Regions from separate parts of the Homo sapiens genome. Here regions 1 and 2 are each linked to region 3. The links are contacts of gene promoters, found by promoter capture Hi-C in blood cells and fetal thymus (Javierre and others, 2016). All regions are on one chromosome and are shown on one strand. The core of a region is centred on a gene start or on the middle of the fragment in contact, and the rest is flanking DNA. Distances in the headings are between cores, read along the strand shown.

The links. Contacts are between HindIII fragments. The CHiCAGO score rates a contact against its expected background, and 5 or more counts as called.
Region 1: a fragment that was not itself captured here is called in contact with the fragment with the promoter of STK38L in region 3 in 2 of 17 cell types (activated CD4 T cells and fetal thymus); the score reaches 7.7 in activated CD4 T cells.
Region 2: a fragment that was not itself captured here is called in contact with the fragment with the promoter of STK38L in region 3 in 1 of 17 cell types (naive CD8 T cells); the score reaches 5.4 in naive CD8 T cells.

The regions. Positions count from the first base shown.
Region 1 is chr12:26,118,373-26,121,257 of GRCh38, reverse strand. BHLHE41 (basic helix-loop-helix family member e41) reads left to right here. Exons shown (of 5, transcript NM_030762.3): 5 at 1-1,228. Among named protein-coding and RNA genes, the nearest start is that of BHLHE41, 5.2 kb to the left of the region's middle. The HindIII fragment of the contact is 1,105 bases long and covers 795-1,899 here.
Region 2 is chr12:25,252,798-25,255,497 of GRCh38, reverse strand. No RefSeq gene overlaps it. Among named protein-coding and RNA genes, the nearest start is that of KRAS, 3.2 kb to the right of the region's middle. The HindIII fragment of the contact is 1,695 bases long and covers 430-2,124 here.
Region 3 is chr12:27,242,867-27,245,566 of GRCh38, reverse strand. It overlaps STK38L (serine/threonine kinase 38 like), which reads right to left and starts at 1,281. Exons shown (of 14, transcript NM_015000.4): 1 at 1,235-1,281. RefSeq lists a silencer at 1,213-1,452 and an enhancer at 2,511-2,570. The HindIII fragment of the contact is 3,512 bases long and covers 1-2,475 here.

The DNA.
Region 1 (2,885 bases), core at 98-2,597, 1.1 Mb after region 3:
ACTCATCTTAATTTCTTCTAAGTCCATATATAGATAGATATCTATCTGTACAGATTTCTATTTATCCATAGATAGGTATCTATACATACACATCTCAAGTGCATCTATTCCCACTCTCATTAATCCATCATGTTCCTAAATTTTTGTAATCTTACTGTAAAAAAAAGTGCACTGAACTTCAAAACAAAACAAAAAACAACAACAACAAAAAACAAGTCCAAACTGATATATCCTATATTCTGTTAAAATTCAAAAGTGAACGAAAGCATTTAACTGGCCAGTTTTGATTGCAAATGCTGTAAAGATATAGAATGAAGTCCTGTGAGGCCTTCCTATCTCCAAGTCTATGTATTTTCTGGAGACCAAACCAGATACCAGATAATCACAAAGAAAGCTTTTTTAATAAGGCTTAAACCAAGACCTTGTCTAGATATTTTTAGTTTGTTGCCAAGGTAGCACTGTGAGAAATCTCACTTGGATGTTATGTAAGGGGTGAGACACAACAGTCTGACTATGAGTGAGGAAAATATCTGGGTCTTTTCGTCAGTTTGGTGCATTTGCTGCTGCTGTTGCTACTGTTTGCCTCAAACGCTGTGTTTAAACAACGTTAAACTCTTAGCCTACAAGGTGGCTCTTATGTACATAGTTGTTAATACATCCAATTAATGATGTCTGACATGCTATTTTTGTAGGGAGAAAATATGTGCTAATGATATTTTGAGTTAAAATATCTTTTGGGGAGGATTTGCTGAAAAGTTGCACTTTTGTTACAATGCTTATGCTTGGTACAAGCTTATGCTGTCTTAAATTATTTTAAAAAAATAAATACTGTCTGTGAGAAACCAGCTGGTTTAGAAAAGTTTAGTATGTGACGATAAACTAGAAATTACCTTTATATTCTAGTATTTTCAGCACTCCATAAATTCTATTACCTAAATATTGCCACACTATTTTGTGATTTAAAAATTCTTACTAAGGAATAAAAACTTTAATATACGATATGATATTGTCTAATAATTAAAAAAGACATAATGGATGCTCAATTAGTTTTAAGATATCTATAACTATAGGGATACAAATCACTACAGTTCTCAGATTTACAGCTTTTTTTTGTCATTGGCTTGATGTCACACATTTCCAATCTCTTGCAAGCCTCCAGGCTCTGGCTTTGTCTACCTGCTCGTTCCCAATGTATCTTAATGAAAAGTGCAAAAGAAAAACCTACCAATTAACTTGTGTGGTTTGTTTATGTTAGACCCAATTTTCTATTGTTTTAATGATTGACAAGTTTTTCAGTTTTCGTCTGTGACATCACATAGCCTCTCTAGTATGGTCAGGTGTTCCTCTTTCACTGGGTCTTGTATAAATAGATGATCACAAAGGGGTGCTTAATATGAGAGTGTTTTGGCTTCTTTTTATAAAATAATTCTGTCATGGGACTTTATCATGGAATTCCAGGATCAGAAATAATTTCTAGACTTTTCTCAAATTTCCATTCAAATCTGTGATATGATACAAACAGTGAAGGATTGTCAGCTTTTAGTTTCAGGAATGTTCTTCACAAACCCCTTGATTTTTGAAAATGTTTAAATGAGAGTCAGATTGTATAAGATGTAGAAAAAGTGCTCCCTCTGCTGACTTTATGGCAACTGAACTGCAAGTCATAACAGTATGAAGCCAGAAGGAGCCACAGCTCATCCAGTCCCCTGCATTTCGTGATAGGAAAAAAAGAAAGGAAGCCCAGAGATATTAAGTATCTTCCCAAGGTCACAGAGCTACCTAGAGTCAGCACTAGCACTAGTGGCCAGCTCTATTATATCCCTCAGTCACTCAACTACTTCCCATTGCAGTATCTTGGACCAAGTAAGCTGAACTTGATTGAGCAGCCCCCATGAAGCTTCGTAACAAACCATAGAACAAAGGAAATTGAAATCAACACTAGAAAACTATGTAGGATTTTTCAGCATTGTTAATTTATTGAACTTTAGAAAAATTATCTGAATCAGAATAATGGGAAAAACAGCATTTCAAATATTTTGAGCTATATTTTGATGCCACTACTGTAGTAATATTAGTTTCATAACCAAAAAGGATTAAAAGTGAATCAGAGGATAATACAGTGTTTTTAGCATGTGTATAATTTTGGTATAATGAGATAAAAAAATCTTCAGAGTTGGGCCAGATTTTACAAGTCAGTTATTTAGTCCAAGTGCCCATATGGTAACATGGTAAGATAAAGTTAGAACAGAAATGCAAAAATAATATTGTCTATATTGTATCTGAAAATCTGAAAAAACTTTATTTTAGTCATTGATTTATTTTAATGAATTAAAAGGCTGAAGTCATAATTCACTAAAGAGGCTTCTATACTTGTAGTGGTGAAATTTCAGCTAAAATGATTTTCCAACTTCAGGCAAATATGAATCTTGAGTCAATGTTTTTATGAGTATAGTATTATACTCATAAAAATTTAATTTTACATACATATATTTTACATAATCTTTAAAAAGATTAATTTTATATAACACATTTCTTAGCAAACTTTATATTGAATTGAAAAAAAATGGCCCTTCCCTCCCCTCCAAAGAGCTAACCTTAAGCACGTTTTCAAGGCACTAGAAACAACACTTTAATAGCTATGTAAAATTTGGAGTTTTAGTTCCTATCATTGTGAAACTATTTTTCATTTAGTTCCCTGTTTCTGGCCATCCAGGCGATGACTTTGGTTATTGCCCACCACCCGAGATTTGTTCAAAAGTTATGTAAAAGGAGGCTCAGCCTACTCCTTTCTATGTCACAGGTCAATTCTTAACCTTTCCATGGAAAGTGATTGCCAGTGGAGCCTCTGGAGAGACATGGCTGGGCAAACACACGAAGGACTTTTA
Region 2 (2,700 bases), core at 28-2,527, 2.0 Mb after region 3:
TTTGATGATGATAAAAGACATGCGGAAGAAAGGTTAATTTGGCAACATCATAAAACTGAATTGAGACAAAGAAAGCCAGGAGGTAGGAAAGTCAATGAAGAAGTTATTCCAGAAATGTAGCTGAGAAGGAAGGAATACAGAAGAGGCAGATATGGGAAAATACTCAGGAAGTATAATTAAAAGGAGCTGTGACTAATTTTAATAAGGACTGGGTTAAAAATTAAGTTTTCATGTCTAAATGTTCTGGAGGACCATGATGTCACTCAGGTAAGATGGAGGAATTGAGAGAGGGAATTCGTTAGAGGGAATAACATGGGGAATTTGGCTTTGGACAGGCATTTGCCATGATAACAGAATATTCATTTAGAAATGGTCCAGGAAATTGGTTTGATGAGAATGAAGTGCCTGTGAAGAGAGAGGACTGAAGCTTGTTATAATTTCATTCACTTCAGGAATATTTACAGAGGACCCAAATGTGCTAAGAACTATGAAAACATAGAATTAAAAGAAATGGGCCTGGAATAATTTACAACCTAGTAAAGCAGTTATGGGAAAACATATTTGCAAAAAAGGTATACAAAGTATAATGAAATAAGTGTCCAGTAAGGATAAAGTGCAGAGTAAGTGAATTAAGCAGCACCCATTCATGTGTTCAAATTCCTGCCAGAGTCAAAAGGTTGTGCTGAAGTAGAGTCCATGAAAGCATCGTAGATGGCTCCTCCTGCTCAAGTTCCCCTGCTCTGCGTCCTGCTACTCTGGCCACAACCGTCTGGACCCAGGGTTGACACACAAACAAACACAATAATCTTTTAGCCAGACATAAAGAAGGCCAGCCACCAATCAGGAAAATTGTGTCCCATAAAGGCCCTTCCTATTGAACAGTGAATGACAGACATGGCCAGATCTTCTCTCTTGGAATGCTTTGAATGTTAGTCACAGAGAGTGACCACTAGAAGCACAGATAGCAGTAGAAGCTAAGACTACATGAAAAAGCAGTGGACAGATGGTGATTTATGAGAATGGCAAAATTACTAGAGTCATAGGCAATGGATACTTGTTAATGAAGGGATGAGCAGGGCCCCACAGCCTGTTGCTGGCTCACAAGTGCAGTTGATTGCTGGACTGAACAGCAGCTCTCCGCCTGATGATAGGGTTTTTTAAAGTGTCCTTATTGCCTTAAAGTAAATCCTCAGCATTTGCAGTGCTCTGAGGGTGTCCTAGCATTTTATACCTTTTTTCTAAGAGCCCAGGTAACATAAGGGTACTCCTGTTGTTCTGGCTTTAATTCTATCTGCAGAAGAGGGTTTCTTGTGAAAGAAAGGGTCAGTATGGTCTTTTATCTGTACAGCAGATAAAAAGGGTATGTACGTGCACACCTTTGTACGTGGCTGCCTTCCCAGGACAGTCTGACAGTAGAGGGTAGAAACTTCAGTTGTAGCTGAGAGCAGGCCTGGAATCCCCATGCTTATACTTTTTATTTCCTCCCCCCTTTCCCATTGTGATCACAGGCTACTTCAGTGTGCTTGTCCTTGGAGAGAGCAAGGGAAGGGAGAGCCAGGGAGACTGTTCAAGGGAGCCACCAGGCTCGAGAAAGAGGAACCCCTGAAGACAGTAGAAAGTGCAGGTGCCAAGAATTTGAATATCTACATCAGAGTTTCTCAATGTGCACACAGTGAACTACCAGTTTAGGATCATTTGATTTGCTAAAAATGAAGATTACTGGTCTACCTTAGACCAACTGAATAAAATATCTGGGTGAGGGGCCTAGGAACTTGCATTTTTGGTAGGCATGGCAGGTGATTCCTAAAGCATTTACCCTTGAGACCTCTATGTTAAGGAAAGAAAGGTAATGTTGCAAGGAGGTGGTGCCGGCTTCTAAGAAAGTACCCAGGACTGAACGGCAGAAAGACCTGACATACCATATGTATAAATTGCTGTGGAAGTGAAAAGGAAAGAGAAAGTGTCTGAGGTAAAACTGGAGTGTGGGGTGCGTGGAACAAATGGTTGGATGCAGATTTGCTTTACGAATCATGAGCCTAGATGATAACTGAGACCATGTGGATGGATTAGGTTTCTGCTAATGCCAGAATTTTTATAATCAGCATAAAAGTGCTATATAAAGCTTTCCCCTCTTCTATATTATAGTCCTTTTAAGATGTATGGAACATCAACTATAGGAAGAACATCATATTCACAGCTGTAAGAGGAAACAAGAACTTATCATGCACTTGATGTTGTACAAAATAAATCTGTGATTTATGCTTGAGTGACCACAAAGTAGCATACACATAAGCGCAAATTCATTCATTTAAGAATTCCTTGTGTCTATTATGTACGAGATAAGTATCTCTGAGCTGCACGGAATGTGGCTTATCAGAAGGTGACCTAAGTTTCAAAGCAGATTTTGTTAAGATGAAGACAGAGATTGACAGGAGGTTTAAGACACTCTGTCTAAAGTAAAGATTTAGAGTCACAGAGTTCATGGATTAGGATTTAGAATCCACAGAGGGTCCACAGATTCACTCATTCAACATTCCATAAATATTTATTGAATGCCTTTTTGTGTCAGAGACTGTCTTAGGTGCTGGAAATTTAGCAGTAAATGAAACAGACCAAAACCCATGCCCTCATGGAGCTTACATTCTGATGGTAGAGAGACAAGAAAACAAAATAGATAGTGTATTATTGAAGGTGATGAGA
Region 3 (2,700 bases), core at 32-2,531:
GTTTACAGTACCTTATATACATATATGATTGAGACAAAGAACTTTCAAGAATCTGTACTGAGGAAGCAAAAATGGGCTTAAGTACAATAGGCCCTGCCTTAAAGTAGAGAGACCGGTCAAACGTAAGCCCCAGCGCCAAAAAAGACAAGGTCTCACTCATCAATCCCCATCTTACAATCAAGAGGCAGAACTTAAATCACTTAAAGCTGTTTTTTCAGATTTGAGCAGTAAAATAAGCTAATAGGCCATTTCCGATTAAGTGGCTTCTCTCAAAACTTATCACAAGTTATGTGAAATGGGTAAAAGTGTTGGTTCTGCATTTTATCAAGTGAGAAACAATAGCATCCTACTTTTGGACAAGCCACTACTTCCAGAGCCACTAGCCCTCCCCCCACCTCCCACTTCTTTTTATATCATTCCTCCAAACTTAGAACCCGAAAAGCTATTCCACAAAACAAAAGCAGCACCAGTAAAAGGGGAGGCCACTGGTTTTGAAAATAAAGTTTGTTCTTTTGCTGTCAACCTGGCAACTTTTTAAAGGTGAAACGTGCCCTACTCAATCGGTTATACTCTTTTCTACTCCCACACCAAATAACCACTCGTTCGACCTCGATACTAAAGGTGAAAAAAGGAGTGGGAGAAATGATTTTGAAAGGAAGGGGCTACGGGTGCAATGGTAAAGACAGATTCTAAGACTGGTTTTGAGCACTCCGTGGCTTCTAGGAGCTGGGAGGCTTTCCTGAGTCTGTCTTGAGAAATGTTTGGCAATCTGACGCATCAGTTTTTAGGAACGGTACACAAACAGCCCCCACAATTGAAGAGCCATGCTTCGGATCCTGGCTCTGGGTGACATCGGCTGGAGGGCACGGGACGGGAGCGCTGGGGCTACCCGGAGAGGATCCGCGACATTTGTTATTGTTTGTGAAGCCCAGGCGGGGACCCGGAGCGGAGTGCTCGGGGGCCGGGGAGTGGAAGGAGAAAGGAGCAGAGGACAAAGATTCCTCCCCGGGTGCGAGGCTCCCTCTCTGGACACATGGGGCCAGTATCACCCCGGGGAATAAGAGGGCCAAGGCCGTCGCCGCAGGTTCCCCGGAGACATTTCCAGCCCCAGAATTAGCCCGGCTTTCCCTGGACACCCAAAGACACCTAAAATCTCCTCCTGCTCCTGCTCGCAGAGTTGGGGCTGGCGCGGCGAGCTCGGGCCCTCAGCCGAGCGCTACATCCGCGAACTCACCTGCCTCCGGTCGCGCCCGCGGCCGGCTCAGCCTCCGCACGGACCGCAGCCGGCCGGGCGCCCGTCAGCTCCCTTCTCCCCGCTCCGCCCTCGCCCCGCCCCCGGGAGGTGGGACCCGCGGCCTCGCCGGAATCTCAGGGCGGCCTCCCTGAACTCTCGCGAGCCTTGCCTCCTCGGCTTCTCGGTGGCTGGGTCGGTCCGACTCGCCCTGACGTCATACGCACCACAGCCGGAAGTAGCCTTCTGTCGTCAACGCCCGTCTTCCCGGCCCCACCCATCTCCGCCTGGTGAAGGCCAGACTGGTTTTGAGGGAGTTGACTGAACTGTCGCCACTTCCCCTCTCACCAGCCTCACCTCACTGCCGTTTTTACGCCAAACCTGTTCAGGCCTCTCTTGAGAGTGGCCTAATGTGTTGCGACATTAGTCACATTCTAAATGTCATCCGAATTTTTCAAACAGTGCAATGCAAAGAATGTTAGAAATGGAAAGAGAGAATTCACGCATTTTTCAGATTGGGAAACAGTTGTCAACAAAGATGGATCAGCTAAGTTGCTCAGTCGGTAGCTGTGGGGACTCGAAGCCACCCAGGTTCCTTGACGCTTCCATTTCACCATGAGGGGACTCCAGAGACTGGAGAGGAACCAGGATTTGTAAATGCCACAAAAAATACATTAAAAACCTGTTTGAGTTTTCTTGGAAAATCTAAAATAACTACAGTACTGGCCTGCTTTATCAGTAGGATCTGAGAATTGTGCAGAAGAGCACTCCCCTATAGGATGACCCAAAAGGGACAACTTTGGGAAGGTTGATGCAATTTGCGTCTGGGGACAAAACTGGCCTTTGGGAAAGCCAAATGAGAGAATGACTCCCAATTATTGTTGGCAAGTTTATCCTCAATATGAGTATTGGAGGTCTTATAAAATATTCTTAGCTTTTAGCTTACTGAGACAACGTATGAAGCTGGTACTGTGCTTGCAAAAACTATCACTTAGAAATGCCACCTGTCATCTTTAGGTTTCCCAAGAGCAGGTGACACGAGCAAAACACCTAGGAAAGAAGCATTACCTCATTTCTCTTTCTTACACTGTGCTTTTTCATACATAGCTTAGTAGTGGGAAAAGCTCTAGTTTGGTAATTAGTGTATTTTTGGGGAGATCAGCTCCACTTATATGGTCATTTTGAAACTCAAATGACAGTTGTCATATACAAGCATAGGAGGTTTAATTGTGATCAGACAAGCTTGACAGGCCTATACACCCTTCTCCCTGTACTGCACGCATACACATACCATTCAAATGCTACGATAAGATTGAGAACAGTGTATGGTTTGTTCCACAGCAAATTTATGTCTTCAAATGTGCCATACTAGAGTAATATGAACTAGTATAGAGTAGCAGTCTAGGTTAATATGGGATAGCCTAAGACTTTGACCTCTAGTTCCTAAATTCTCCTAAATTGAGACCATT